Linked DNA regions of Homo sapiens: region 1 is linked to region 2. Evidence: promoter capture Hi-C in 16 types of primary human blood cells and fetal thymus (Javierre and others, 2016). All regions are on one chromosome and are shown on one strand. The core of a region is centred on a gene start or on the middle of the fragment in contact, and the rest is flanking DNA. Distances in the headings are between cores, read along the strand shown.

What was found. Contacts are between HindIII fragments. The CHiCAGO score rates a contact against its expected background, and 5 or more counts as called.
Region 1: a fragment that was not itself captured here is called in contact with the fragment with the promoter of NUP160 in region 2 in 1 of 17 cell types (fetal thymus); the score reaches 6.7 in fetal thymus.

What each region holds. Positions count from the first base shown.
Region 1 is chr11:46,824,187-46,831,310 of GRCh38, reverse strand. All of the region lies in intron 1 of CKAP5 (cytoskeleton associated protein 5), which reads left to right. Among named protein-coding and RNA genes, the nearest start is that of CKAP5, 19 kb to the left of the region's middle. RefSeq lists enhancers at 4,023-4,573, 4,574-5,126. The HindIII fragment of the contact is 1,112 bases long and covers 3,242-4,353 here.
Region 2 is chr11:47,842,763-47,849,726 of GRCh38, reverse strand. NUP160 (nucleoporin 160) reads left to right here and starts at 1,377. Exons shown (of 36, transcript NM_015231.3): 1 at 1,377-1,508; 2 at 1,768-1,879. The coding sequence starts at 1,409. RefSeq lists an enhancer at 880-1,439. The HindIII fragment of the contact is 7,211 bases long and covers 1-5,346 here.

The DNA.
Region 1 (7,124 bases), core at 2,548-5,047, 1.0 Mb after region 2:
TTAAAGCTTTTAAAAGCATTATTTATCATCTAAGCGGGAGTTAAATAAAGAAAAAGTAAATGAAAAAAATTTAATAATATAAAAAATACAAAAACATTATTATAAAAGATGCTGAAGCTCATTATTAAAAATCAGAAGGCATGGATGGGTATTAAAGTTCAAAGTAAAAGTTTTTTCAAAAAAATTTCTTTGCTTAACCCTTAGACACACTCTCAGAAGTCATGGTTAACAATTTTTTTCTTTTTTGAGACTGATTCTCACTTTGTTGCCCAGCCTGGAGTGCAGTGACGCGATCTCGGCTCACTGCAAGCTCCGCCTCCCAGATTCACGCCATTCTCCTGCCTCAGCCTCCCGAGTAGCTGGGACTACAGGCACCCGCCACCATGCCCGGCTAATTTTTTTGTATTTTTAGTAGATACATGGTTTCATCCTGTTAGCCAGGATGGTCTCGATCTCCTGACCTCGTGATCCGCCCCCACCTTGGCCTCCCAAAGTGCTGGGATTACAGGCAAGAGCCACCACCCCGGCCCATGGTTAATAATTTTCTACAGATCCTTCCAGAAAATGTTTATGTGCATTCAAACATGTACAATGATGTCCTAGTTTTCTATGGCTGCTGTAACAAATGACCACAAACTTGGTGGCTTAAAAAAACAGGATTTATTCTCTCACAGTATGGAGGCCAGAAATCCAAAATGAGTCTTATGGACCTACATCAGGGTGTCAGTCAGCAGGGCCACACTCCCTCCAGAGCCCCTAGGAAAGAATCTGTTCCTTGCCTCTTCCAGCTTCTGGTGGCTGCTGGCACTCCTAGGCCTGTGGCCATCTTTCTCTACTCTATTCTAATTTTTTTTTTTTTTTTTTTTTTTTGAGACGGAGTCTTGCTCTGTTGCCCAGGCTGGAGTGCGGTGGTGCCATCTCGGCTCACTGCAAGCTCTGCCTCCCAGGTTCATGCCATTCTCTTGCCTCAGCCTCCCGAGTAGCTGGGACTACAGGTGCCTGCCACCACGCCCGGCTAATTTTTTGTATTTTTAGTAGAGACGGGGTTTCACCGTGTTAGCCAGGATGGTTTCGACCTCCTGACCTTGTGATCTGCCTGCCTTGGACTCCCAAAGTTCTGGGATTGCAGGCGTGAGCCACCGTGCCCGGCCTACTCTATTCTAATCTTTCTCTGATCCCTCTTCATATCACTTTCTCCATTGGGTCAAATCTCCCTCCGTCTTGCCCATAATGATATATGTGATTGCCTTTACCCACCCAAACAATCCAGGGTAATCCCCCCATCTCAAGATCCTTAATTTAATCACATCTGCAAAGACCCTTTTTCCAAATAAAGTAACATTTACAAGTCCCAGGGATTACAACGTGATTTCTTTGGGGGTCATTATCAGCCTACACAAATGCATATGTAAATGTGTATGTGAGATACACACACACACACACACACACACACACACACACACACACACACATACAAAAAAGGAATTAGACTTCATATACTGTCTTGCAAATTTCTTCTTAAAACTTAATGGATTTCTTCCACATAGGCACATTTGACCCTTGAGCAATGCCAACGTTAGGGATCCCCCTGTGCAGTGGGAACTTCACATATAATTTTAGACACCCCCAAAACTTTACTAATAGCCTACTGTTGACCAGAAGCCTTATTGATAACATAATTGTTTAACACATATTTTGTATATGTATTATATATTGTATTCTTACAGTAAAGTAAGCTAGAGAAAAGAAAATGTTAAGAAAATCAGAAGGAGGAAAAATATTTTTTCTCGCTCCATCGTTCAGGGTGGAGTGTTGTGGTCCCCTCTTGGCTCACTCTTTCTGGGCTCAGGCAATCCTTCTACCTTAGCCTCCCGAGTAGCTGGGACTAACAGGCATGTGCCACCAGGCCCAGATAATTTTTTGTATTTATTTTTAGAGACAGTAAGTAGACTGTCTTTTAAGTAAAGTAAGACTTTATTGCCCAGTAAGTAGAAAATATATTTACTATTCATTAAATGGAAGTGGATCATCATAAAGGTCTTCATCCTTGTCATCCTCATGTCGAATAGGCTGAGGAAGAGGAGGGGTTGGTCTTGCTGTCTTAAGGGTGACAGGGGCAGAAGAAAATTCACATGCAAGTCAACCCGTGCAGTTCAAATCCATGTTGTTCAAGGGTCAACTGTATTTATATATTTACTTCTGTCTTCCATATCATCTTTTGTTTACTTTAAATATTTGCAAAGCAATTTTTGTATAGACGAATGTCTCATTTTTTGTGTATGGTAAAAAACAATAGTATAAAATTTACCATCTTAACCATTTTTAAGTGTACAGTTCAATAGTGTTAAGTATATTCACATCGTTATGAAACAGATCTCCAGAACTTTCTCATCTTGCTAATCTGAAACTCTGTATCTAAATATTTCTCTTATCCCCCTCCCAAGCCACACCCCCACCCCATCTTTGGTTACTACCATTCTACTTTCTGGTTCTATGAATTCATGAATTTGACTGCATACCTCATAAAAGTGGGTTCATACAGTATTTGACTTTTTTTGTGACTGTTAGTAGATTTTTTTCTCTAATTTTTAAAATGTTTAATTCGCTCATAAGCACAGCACAGGGTATTATCCATTTGTGTGTGCATACACACATACACTCATTGTACTATGTTTATTGCAGTTAACTGAAGTCCTATGTCACTAGAATGCTATGTAACAGAAAATGTTGGTCATACCTCTTGTGATAAATATTTGTTGGGTACTTATTTTGTATCACACATTGGAAGAAAAAGATAATTAAGATACATTCCAGCCCTTGCCCTTGAGGAACTCACAATCTGATGAGAAAGGCTGATCTGCAAACCATTACCCTCAGAACAGTTAAGCTTGATGGGAATATAATGAATGAAGGTCTTAATTACCTAATTCAGAGGTATTCTTTACAGTTAAATGCATTGTAGAATGAGACTGTCTTGGCAGTTCAAAAATCAGACTGTTTTAATCTGAATCCATTTTTTACTTGGCAACTTTATTTATTTATCTACCCCGCCCCCACCCAAGTAAGGAAAAGATACTTGGCAACTTTAGCTTAGGGTTCTCTAAAACCTTCAGAATAAGAGTAACCTGAGTCTGCTCCCTGGTGGAGCAATCTTCATAACTGTTCTTTGGATTCTTAAATTTCTGCTTTATTCCTGTTGTGGATAGGAGAAATTGGGTTACTTACAAATGGTCTTTAAGCTTACTACATTGATTCCTGTACTGATCTGATGATGGCCCAAGGCTTTAAGGAGGTGTGTTGATTCATCTAAATTAGGTGGAGTAATATGGACTTAAAAAAAGCACATATCTTTCCTGTTGGTATGATGGGAGACACAAAATGCAGTCAAACCTTGTAAACTAGGATTCAGGACAAACTCCTCCTACAAAAAGAAAATTAAAACTAGTTGCTAACCTTTGGAGATCTCAGAGACTAGGACTTAACTCCTTGAAATATTAATGCCGTTTCTACTACAATTTTCTTAAGAACTCTTCATATTAAATTAGATGATTGCACATTACAATTGTATTGGCATGCAAGATTACTTACATAGACTTGTACATTTATTTACGTTGACTTTTAGGTCAATTTTTGAAAGATCACATTTTACACACAAGATGGGGAAGGTTATTTTTCTTTTTTTCTTTTATAGAGGTATGGTTTTGGTTAGTTGTTCAGGGTGGAGTGCTGTGGTGCAGTCTGGCTCACTGCAGCCTAGTCCTGGGCTCAGGATCCTCCCACCTCAGCCTCCGGAGTAGCTGGGACTAGTCTTGTACCACCATGCCCAGCTAATTTTTTATTTTTTGTAGAGATGGGGTCTCACTTTGTTGCCCAGGCTGGTATTTTTCTATTTCACCTTCTATTACCTTCCTGCCCATCTTGTATCATTGTCCAGGATTCCTCCAGTTTTGTAAAGAACGAATTCCGTGAAAAGGTGAGGTGGAGCATTGTAGGATCTTTTCCAGGCCTTTGAGTTGCCATTTGAAGAACTGCTCGAGTCCAAAGGAGGTTAATGAAGTAAGCAGCTTACATATAATGAGGGGCTATGTATCTACCTTGATGCTTTGGCTGTTACCTGCAGTAATTTTTTTCACCCTTGGAGGAGGGATTAGGATTGTGATAGTGGGAACTGGTCATCTCCTTTGTTTCTGGAATATTACGTGTAATACTACCAAAAAAAGAGGTCCACCCAACTGCAGTAGTCTTCCTAGTTGGTCCATCATTTGCCTCTTGCCTGGGAAAGCCTAGGACCTAGAAGCAGCGCCTGAGGCCTGCAAACCTCTGGGCGAAGATACACTGCGGCCCCTTTAAGCTTTCAGAGTGTGCGGAGAGGGGAGCTGAGGGTGGGGCGGGCACTCTGACAGTGGCGCTCCGGGCCCCGCCCTCGGAGGAGGCGTTTCCCAGCGGACCGCAGCACCAATGCTGCTGCCGCCGCCGCCGCCGCCTGCCGGGTATTCCTGCTGATCCTGCTCGGACCTTAGCTTCCCTGACCTCTCCCTGCCCGGGGAGCGTAAGTGTCAAACCACGGGCAAAGGGCAAGCATCCCGCGACCGTGCTGCAAGTCCTGGTGGACAGTACTGGGGACTTTGCTGGCCTATCAGAGGCTAAGGCGGCGAAAGAGCGTAAACAATGCCGGCTCCAGTGAGCTAAAGCCAGGGTATCTGCTCTACTTCTGGGTGGTGACAGCAGCCGTAGGGTGCTTGTTTGGGCATGCAGTGGGTGAGCAGTGCCCACGACCTGGCTTTGCCCCCACCTGGTTCTTACTTGGGGTGAGGAGAGGGTTGCTTTTACCAGAGTATAACCCATTTGAGCTGAATGGGTGGAGCTGAATCTCTCTCTCTGGGCCTTGGATCCTTACCCTGGTATTTGAAGACCTTGGTAGCTTTGGGATGAGTAAGCATTAGGTTTTCAGCTACCTTGGTACAGTCGAGCAGTAACTCCAAGTTGTCCTAATTCACAGCCAGGTTTAGCTGTCTCTCCAGAGGCCTGTGTTGGTGGTATCCCGTACCCCTTTTGGATATGTTGACAGTGAACATCTCTTAGGAAGAGTCCAGTTAACCTTTCCTCCTGATATAAAGAGCACAATGTGAAAGAGACAGCTCTTTACCCCTCTCCATCTCTGAAGGAATTTGTGGGACGCCACTGTCCCAAGATTAGGAAAGCAAACACACCAAAGTTTGAGATAATCTGCTAGAAAACTGTTCAGATTTCTGGCCGCCTGGTAATGCAGAATACTCCGGCAAGAGGATAACACTTGTCCTTGTTAATGGGAAATACCTGGAGACAGTGAGTTTTTTTTTTAATTTGAGGGAAAGTGTTGTCATTTTTGCCACCTGCTACTCAGAGATGGGATTTTGTCAGATTTTGGTTAAATAATAAAAATCTTAAGTTTTCTATGACAGTTACATAGTTGTTGTGTTTCTTTAATCCAGTTGTCCTTCCTAGACATGGTTTGAGTAGATTTCTGGGCATGTGTATGCATTGCTTTTTTAAAAAAATAATTTCTTTTTTTTTTTTTATGAGCCTATCATCACACTCAGTGGTCATTCAAATGGGTTGCTTTTTGATGGAGCAGAAGTTTTTCTCAAACTTCTGTTAAAATCATTCTGTGCTTCTGCAATAGCATCTCCTTAGCCAGAGGTGAGAGTCCAGGAATGGTAATCAAATTCAGATCTCTTGTATTGTGATAGTGAAGAGCTTTTGTAGGTCAAGAGCTTGGGAATTTGCCATAAAAAAGTCATACTGCCAGTGGTTTTTCTCTAAGTAGAAGAGAAAATAATCTGTACAGTAGCTCTGTAATTACTCTTATAGACTATCAAAATACAGGAATTTAAACTAAAAAGACACCACACTTGGGCCCATGGGTTGTAGGGAAGAGAGACAGACTGAGAAGTAGGAGACATAGGTTCTAGGCCCAGCTCTAGTATTACTCATGACTTAATCTCTCTGTCCCTTTTAAATGGTTGGTTAATGAGAAAATGCACAGATTTTGGGGTCTCTTTTATGATGGGATATAGTGCATATTTAATAGGAAATTTGTTATTTATTTGAACACTAAACTGAAAAATCAGACAATTTGGAATTTATTCTAAGTTCTGCCTTCATGTATAACCTTGAAAACATTTCTTAACCTCTAGTCTAAAAATAAACAATTATGCCTAAACCTTTTCAGCAATAGCATGGACTATATGGTATTTGAGCTCTTAGGAAGACATTTTTAGATCAGTGGTATATGATTATAATATATCTGTAAAACATACTTACTTTAGCTGACCTACTTGTCTTTGCCTCAGTTTTAGACTGGGATAAAATCTGAGAGCTCTGAATAATTGAAATTTCTGAATATGTGTCTTTACTAGGGACTAGATCAAATAAACCACAGCAAGCATTATGTATAGTTCAAATTAATCTTCTTAATGCTTCTCTTTGTTGGCAATTTTATTTGCTCTTTAGGCATCAAACTCTACTGTGTAGCAAAAACTTGGTTCTTATATCTGTTTATAAAATCCAGATCAGTCTGCTCATCCCTATATGATACTTTTAACTTTTTGAGAAACTTCCAAATGGTTTTACACAGCAGCTAGACCATTTTGCATTCACAGCAGCTGGACCATTTGGCATTCAACTTAAAAAATACAGAGGTATAATAATTTTTATTGTATTTTACAGACATACTAGTATTCAGTTGGTGGGGGTGGTAGGGGGAAGACTGGTCCTGAGTTTGAAAAGCACAGTTTGATGAACATGTGAACTGTTTCCAGCTTTTGACTACTATGAACAACATTGCTATGACTATCCCTATATAGGTCTTCTGGTGTAATTTGCATCAGTTTCTAGGCTATACACCTAGGAATGGAGTTGCTGGGTGGTAGGGCATGTGTATCTGATAATGCCATACTGTTTTCCAGACTGTTAAACTATTCTGTCTCCCATCATTGGTGTATTTGAGTTCCTGCAGATTCTCCTGACTCCTTTAAATTACACTGCTGCTGTTTCATGGCAATCCTAGGGATTTTGAAGAAAAATCTTAATGAAAGTTCCACATATCCTAATAAACTTTTACAATTCCATCTTTCTCTGGGACA
Region 2 (6,964 bases), core at 128-2,627:
ATTACAGGCGTGCACCACCATGCCCGGCTAATTTTTTGTATCTTTAATAGAGACAGGGTTTCACCATGTTGGCCAGGTTGGTCTGAAACTCCTTACCTCGTGATCCACCCACCTCTGCCTCCCAGAGCGCTGGGATTACAGGCGTGAGCCACCGCGCCCGGCTAATTTTTCTATTTTTGGTAGAGACCGGGTTTCACCATGTTGGCCAGGCTGGTCTCGGACTCCTGACCTCAAGTGATCCTCACGCCTTGGCCTCCCAAAATGCTGGGAGCCACGCCCGACCCGGGTGTATAGTTTTCTCCAGTCATGTTCAGCTACAGATTTGAATGTAGTCGAAGTTGTAGTTTTTACCGATGAAGAGTTAGGCAATGAAGTAATTTAATGGTATTCAGGATAAGAAAGAAACACCAAAGAAGTGTGGGACAGTGAAGATTTTGTAGAACAATGGATTCCAGGTAGAATGAGGGGACTGCACTGCCAAAGTTGGTGTCCCAGAGGGAGTGAAGTGGAAAGATAGAAAATGATGGTCGGAACCAGATAAATGAAACGGAGAATGACAGGGAATGGTTGTGGTCACTGGTAATAGAAGTGCTTTAACTTCTATTGGCTATCACTAAGGAACAAAACCTTCCCCGCTGGAGATTAGCATTTTCCTCGATTTTGAACATCTACTCCCACAATATCTTCTAAACACCCACTATGGGCCCTTACTGCATTGACAGCCAAGTGCAAGATCACGGGTGGAAGGAATGGCAAATTCCTTTCACGTATCCAAGTGAGTAGCACTCAGGTAACCTCAGCAAGTGGCAGCACCAAGGTTTACCACATTACGTTTCATTATACAGGAATACACGAATACAGTCTCTTGGGGAGGGGAAAGACCAAAACCAAAGGCCTTTCCCTCACTACCCCTTCCTCACCCCGCCATCCCAAGTGTCGCCACTGAAGAGCGAAGGGAGGATCGCCAAAGATTTACAGACGGACACCCTAACCGAGGGAGAGGTGACCATAAACCCGGGATCCGGCAGAGGACGCCGAAAGGCCGGGACTCCCCGGACCTCGCCCCTCCTGGTCGACTGAGCCCCGCGTTTTAGAAACAGAAACAAACCCGGCCCCGCCCCCTGCCCTGCGGCCGCTGAGAAAAGAGCACCGCCCTCCGGAGGCGTTCCAGCCGGCCACTGGAAGGTTCCCGCAGATAGAGTCTGCCTCCCCTGCCCCCTTCTCTTCTGGATTCCTCGCTGCCCACCCTCATTCTCCCGGTGGAAGCCTCGCAACGAAGGGCCGGAGCCGCCTTTCTGCTCCCGGAATGCTTCACCTGTCCGCAGCTCCGCCCGCCCCACCCCCGGAAGTGACGGCGACCGCGCGGCCCTGCCTTTGTTCCGTTGGGCGTCGCGGCGACGGCGGGAAGATGGCGGCGGCGGGAGCCCTGGAACGGAGCTTCGTGGAGCTAAGCGGAGCTGAGCGCGAAAGGCCGAGGCACTTTCGGGAATTCACAGTCTGCAGCATTGGTACGGAAATGGCCAGGGAGGGTGCGATCCCATCTGTCCCCTCGGGCTCCTCTCATGGGTCCCAGGGTCCCTGACGCCCTGTTTCATCCTCCTGAGTCCACATGCCTCTAGCCCCGGGATCAGAGATTCCTTGATGTCCGACGTTTTCCTCTTTTCTTTGTATGGGTTGTCAGTCTGTCACTCTCTGCTTTGTCAGCTCCCTTAGTCCCTGTCATTTCTCAGAAGACGCGTGTGCAGGCTGACCACGTTCATTTTGCAGGGACTGCAAATGCCGTGGCTGGCGCCGTAAAATACAGTGAAAGCGCGGGAGGCTTTTACTACGTGGAGAGTGGCAAGTTGTTCTCCGTAACCAGAAACAGGTTCATTCATTGGTAAGTGTTGTGGTTCGCCAAACTCCCCTGGAAGGTAGGGTTTGGTGTATAAATTTTCGTCGCTGTACCCAAAGTGCTATTCTAGAAGCGGTAATTGACACTTAGGGAAAGAGAAAGATTGTTTTTTCAGTTCGTATCAGAATCGGGAAAACTGAGACACAGAGTTCTAGAAGAGATACCTCTCCCCCTCCCCCCCCCCACCCCCACACACACATACACCAAGCAACACCAGAAGCAGAGGAAATGTAGCTTAGGGGAATAAAGCCCATAAGACCAATTTTAAACATGAACCCGTTATGTTTTTATAGTGCTTTACAGCTTCCTTCATTGTACAAATACGTTCGAGCTTCAATATGTCAGGCATTGTGCTAGGTACCAGGACGAAATGAACAAAACTGCAATTTTCATCATGCAAGACGTTGTAGCAATGTCAGAATAGATGTAGACCCACTTTTCATGGGGAAATTTTTTGGAGGAAAACTTGCCCTAGAGGAAAAATATACGGGTTATGAGAGGCTAATAAGAGGACCAAATATAATTAGTGGGGCAGGGAAAGGCTTTAAGGAATTCACAGTTACCCTGAGATCTAAAGGACACGAGGTTAGCCAGGCATGGGGAGTGGACAGAGAGGAGTCCAGCAAGTAGGATCACCATATGCAAAGGTCATGAAGTGGAAAGAATGTGGCGGGTTTGGAACTGACCAAAGATCTGTGTGGCTTAAGTGCAGTGGGTAAAACAGAAAGTGATGTGAGATACTGAGGCTGGAGAGGTAGGCAGGACTCGGACCATGAGGGACCCTTAGGCCATTTTTAAGGATTTTTGGATTTTATCCTAAGTACATTGAGTAATAATTGAAAGATTTTTAAAGAGTTACTAACATCAAAATTGCATTTTTGGATGGGAACAGTTAACACTAGGGATTCCAAAAGGAGGGAGGGAGGGGAGCAAAGGTTGGAAAACCTATCGGATACTGTGTTCACAACTTGGGCGGCAGGATCATCAGAAGCCCAAACCTCATGTATATAGGAATATACACACAATATACTCATGTAACAAACCTGCACATGTACCCCTGAATCTAAATTTTTTTAAATGTATTTTTAGAAGATCTCAGTCTACTTTGTGGAAAGTGGATTTGGATTAGATGGGTATAATACAAAAAAAATTTTGCTTTTATCATGGCCCAAGTAAGGGTTGCTGGTGGCTCAATTGTGGGAATGACTAGAAATAGAAAAGTAGATGGATTCAAGATACCTTTGGAAGATAGATTCACTAGGGCTTGGTGGTGGATTGAATATGGGGTAAGGGATGGTAAAAGAAGAGAGAACAAGGACAGCTCCCTGGTGTCTCATGTGACTAACCAGATGTGAGTGGGGAGGGGTTGCCATTTACAGAGATACCCGGAAGATGGATTTTGGATAGATATGAATAATTCTATTGGACATAGTAAATTTGAAGTACCTGGGGAGCAGCCCTTTGGAAATGTCAAGTAGGCATTGAAGTTTACAGGTCTAAGGCTCAAAAGAGTGACTTTATGTTAGAGATACAAATTTCATTTAATTAAATATTTTGGCTGGGCACAGTGGCTCACACCTGTAATCCCAGCACTTTGGGGGGCTGAGGTGGGAGGATCTCTTGAGGCCGGGAGTTCAAGACCCCATTTCTACAAAAAAAATTTTTTTTTCTTTCTGCTTTTTTTTTTTTTTCTTTTTGAGAGACAGTCTGGCTCCATTGTCCAGGCTGGAGTGCATTGGTGCAATTATGGCTTACTGCAGTCTCCGCCTCCTGGGTTCAAGTGACCCTCCCACCTCAGCCTCCCAAGTAGCTGGAATTACAAGTATGCACCACCATGCCCAGCTAATTTTTCTATTTGTTTTTGTAGAGATGGGGTTTTGCCTTGTTGTCCAGACTGGTCTTGAACTGCCAGACTCAAGCAGTGCCCCGTTCTCGGCCTCCCAACTTGCTAGGATTACAGGCGTAAGCCACCGTGTCCAGCCTGATTTTTTAAAATAAGCCAGGCGGAGTAGCGTGTGCCTTTCATCTTAACTACTCAGGAGGCTGAGGTGGGAGGATCCGATCATGCCACTGCACTCCAGGTGGGAAAAAGGGTAAGACCCCATCTCTTTTAAGAAAACAGGAAGAAAGAAAGAAAATTTGCTTGCCTAATGTATTTCAGTCCGTTTTTAGGGAACAGGGATATAGCAGGGAACAAAACAAAGTCCCTACTCTTATGGAGGAAGATAGGCAACAACAACAATAACCAAAAAACCCCAAGTACATGCAGTTTTGTTACAGGAAAAGGGTGCCGATCCAGACCCCAAGGGAGGGTTCTTGGATCTCGCACAAGAAAGAATTCAGGGCAAGTCCGCAGTGCATAGTGAAAGCAAGTTTATTAAGAAAGTAAAGGAAGCCAGGCATGGTGGCTCACACCTGTAATCCCAGTACTTTAGGAGGCCGAGGCAGGTGGATCACCTGAGGTCAGGAGTTCGAGACCAGCCTGACCAACATGGTGAAACCGTGTCTCTACTAAAAATACAAAATTAGCTGGGCATGATGGCACATGCCTATAATCCCAGCTACTTGGGAGGCTGAGGCAGGAGAATAGCTTGAACCCAGGAGGTGGAGGGTGCAGTGAGCTGAGATCACACCATTGCACTCCAGCCTGGGCAACAAGAGCAAAACTGCATCTCAAAAAAAAATGTAAATAAAAGAATGGCTACTCCATAGACAGAGTAGCTCCGAGGGCTGCTGGTTGCCCATTTTTATGGTTATTTCTTGATGATATGCTAAACAGGGGTGGATTATTCATGCCCCCACTTTTTAGACTCCTGATGTAACTTCCTGATGTTGCCATGGCATTTGTAAACTGTCATGGCGTTGATGGGAGTGTAGCAGTGAGGACAACTGGAGGTCACCCTTGTCGCCATTTTGGTTTTGGTGGGTTTTGGCTTGCTCCTTTATTGCAACCTGTTTTATCAGCAAGGTCTTTATGACCTGTATTTTGTGCTGACCTCCTATCTCATCCTGTGACTTAGAATGCCTTAACTGTCTGGGAATGCATCCCAGTAGGTTTCAGTCTTGTTTTACCCAACTCCTATTCAAGATGGAGTTGTTCTGGTTCACATGCCTCTGACAGTTTGTCAGTTGATTAATGGAATAGGAAAAAGGGAACAGCATAAGAGGGAAGAGGAATACCTGTGGGAGTTAATGTTTTATGTAGGGTGGTTGGGCAAGAGCCAGGGGTAAGCTGACATTTGAGCAGAAGAAAGGATATCTGGGGAATGAGTATTTCAGGTGGAGCCTTCCAAGAAAAAGGAATAAAAAGTGCAAAGAACCCTGAAACAGGAGCCTGTTGTGTTCAAAGAGTGGAAAGGAGCCAGGAGTCTGCAGCTGAGTGAACAAAGGGTAGAATAATAAGAAAGAGATAGTTGAGGGCCAGATCAGGGCTTTGTTGGTTATTTTAAGCTTTGGCTTTTGCTCTGAGTAAGATGAGAAGAAGCTGTGGAAGGTTAAAGTGGAGGAATGACGTGATCTAAGATCTGGGCTTCTAAAGGATTGCTTTGACTGCTGTCTTGAGAATAGAGCGTGGTGGGGGAAAGGGTAGGTGCAGGGAGACCAGTTAGGAGGCTGGTGCCACAATTCACACATGATGGTGGCTTAGATCAGGGTGGTAGTGACAGAGGCAGTGAGAAATGTTGTGATTGTGGATATGTTTTCAAGGTGAATTTGTTAGAATTACTGTTGCATTGGATGGGGAGTATACAGAAAGAAAAGAGTCACAGGTGAGCCCTAGATTTTTGGCTTGAGCAATTGGAAGTTAGGGAGATGTCATTAATTGCGATGGAAAAACGTATAGGTGAAGCAGGTACTTTTGTTTTCTTCAGGTTCAGTGAGTCCAGGAGTTCTGTTTTGGACAGGTGTAATCTGAGATGCCTGATAGATATCCAAGTGAGTGTTGAGACAGTAGTCAGGAGTTGAGTGGAGAAGTTGGGCTAAAGATACAGATTGTGAAATTGTTGGCATTAGATCGTGCTTAAAGCTGTTCTACTGAATGAGATCACCTAGAAAGTGAGAATAAATTAGGATTTTTCACCTTCTGCACTATTATTGTCAGCTAAGTCTTCATTGTGGAAGGCTGTCCTGTATGCTATAGGGTGTTAAGCAGCATTCCTGGCTTCTACCCTCTGCATAGCAATAGCACATCTATACCGCCACTTCTACCCTAGTTACAATAACCAACAATATCTCTAGATATTGCTTAATATCCTGGTGAATGAGGAAGAATCGCCCCCAGTTGAGAGCCACTTGAGTAGAGCAGTCTGGGACTGAACCCTGGGGCACACCAACATTTAGAAAAATGACGAACCAACAAAGGAGCCCAAGAAGGAGTAACTGAAGTGAGAGTTGAACAAAGAACGTGGCATCCCAGAAGCTAAGGGAAATGTTTCAAGGAGGAGGAGAGTGAAAACCTGTCAGTGTTGCATTTAAGCCAGGCAAGATGAGAAACGAAAATTGGCCTTTGGATCATGGAGGTCATTGATGACCTGGTCAGGAATTGCTGCAGTAGTCGTACAAAAGCCTCAGTGGAGTGGGTTCAAGAGGGAAAGGGAGGAGAGGAATTGTGAGTATAGAATAGCCCTTCCAAGGTGTATTGCTATAAGGGAAGCAGAGAAATCACATGGTAACCAGAGAGCAAGGGAGGAACAGAGAAAATATAATAATATATCTATGTGCAGTTGGGAATGACCTAGTAGATGCAGTTGAGAGCAATCACTAGAGGAAAGGAATTTGGGGAACTGAGAAGGTAGAGTGTTAGGATAATTGGATATTGTTTATTCATTTGTTTGTTTGTTTTTTTTTAGAGTCAGAGTTTCACTCTGTCACCCAGGCTGGAGTAAAATAGCACAGTCATGGCCTACTGCAGCCCGAACTCCTAGGCTCAATCGATCCTCCCATCTCAGCCTCCCAAGTGGCTGAGATTACAGGCGGGCATCACCATGCCTGGCTAATTTTTTTATTTTGTAGAGATAGGGTTTTGCTGTGTTGCCCAGGCTGATCTCGTACTCCTGGGCTGAAGAAATCCTC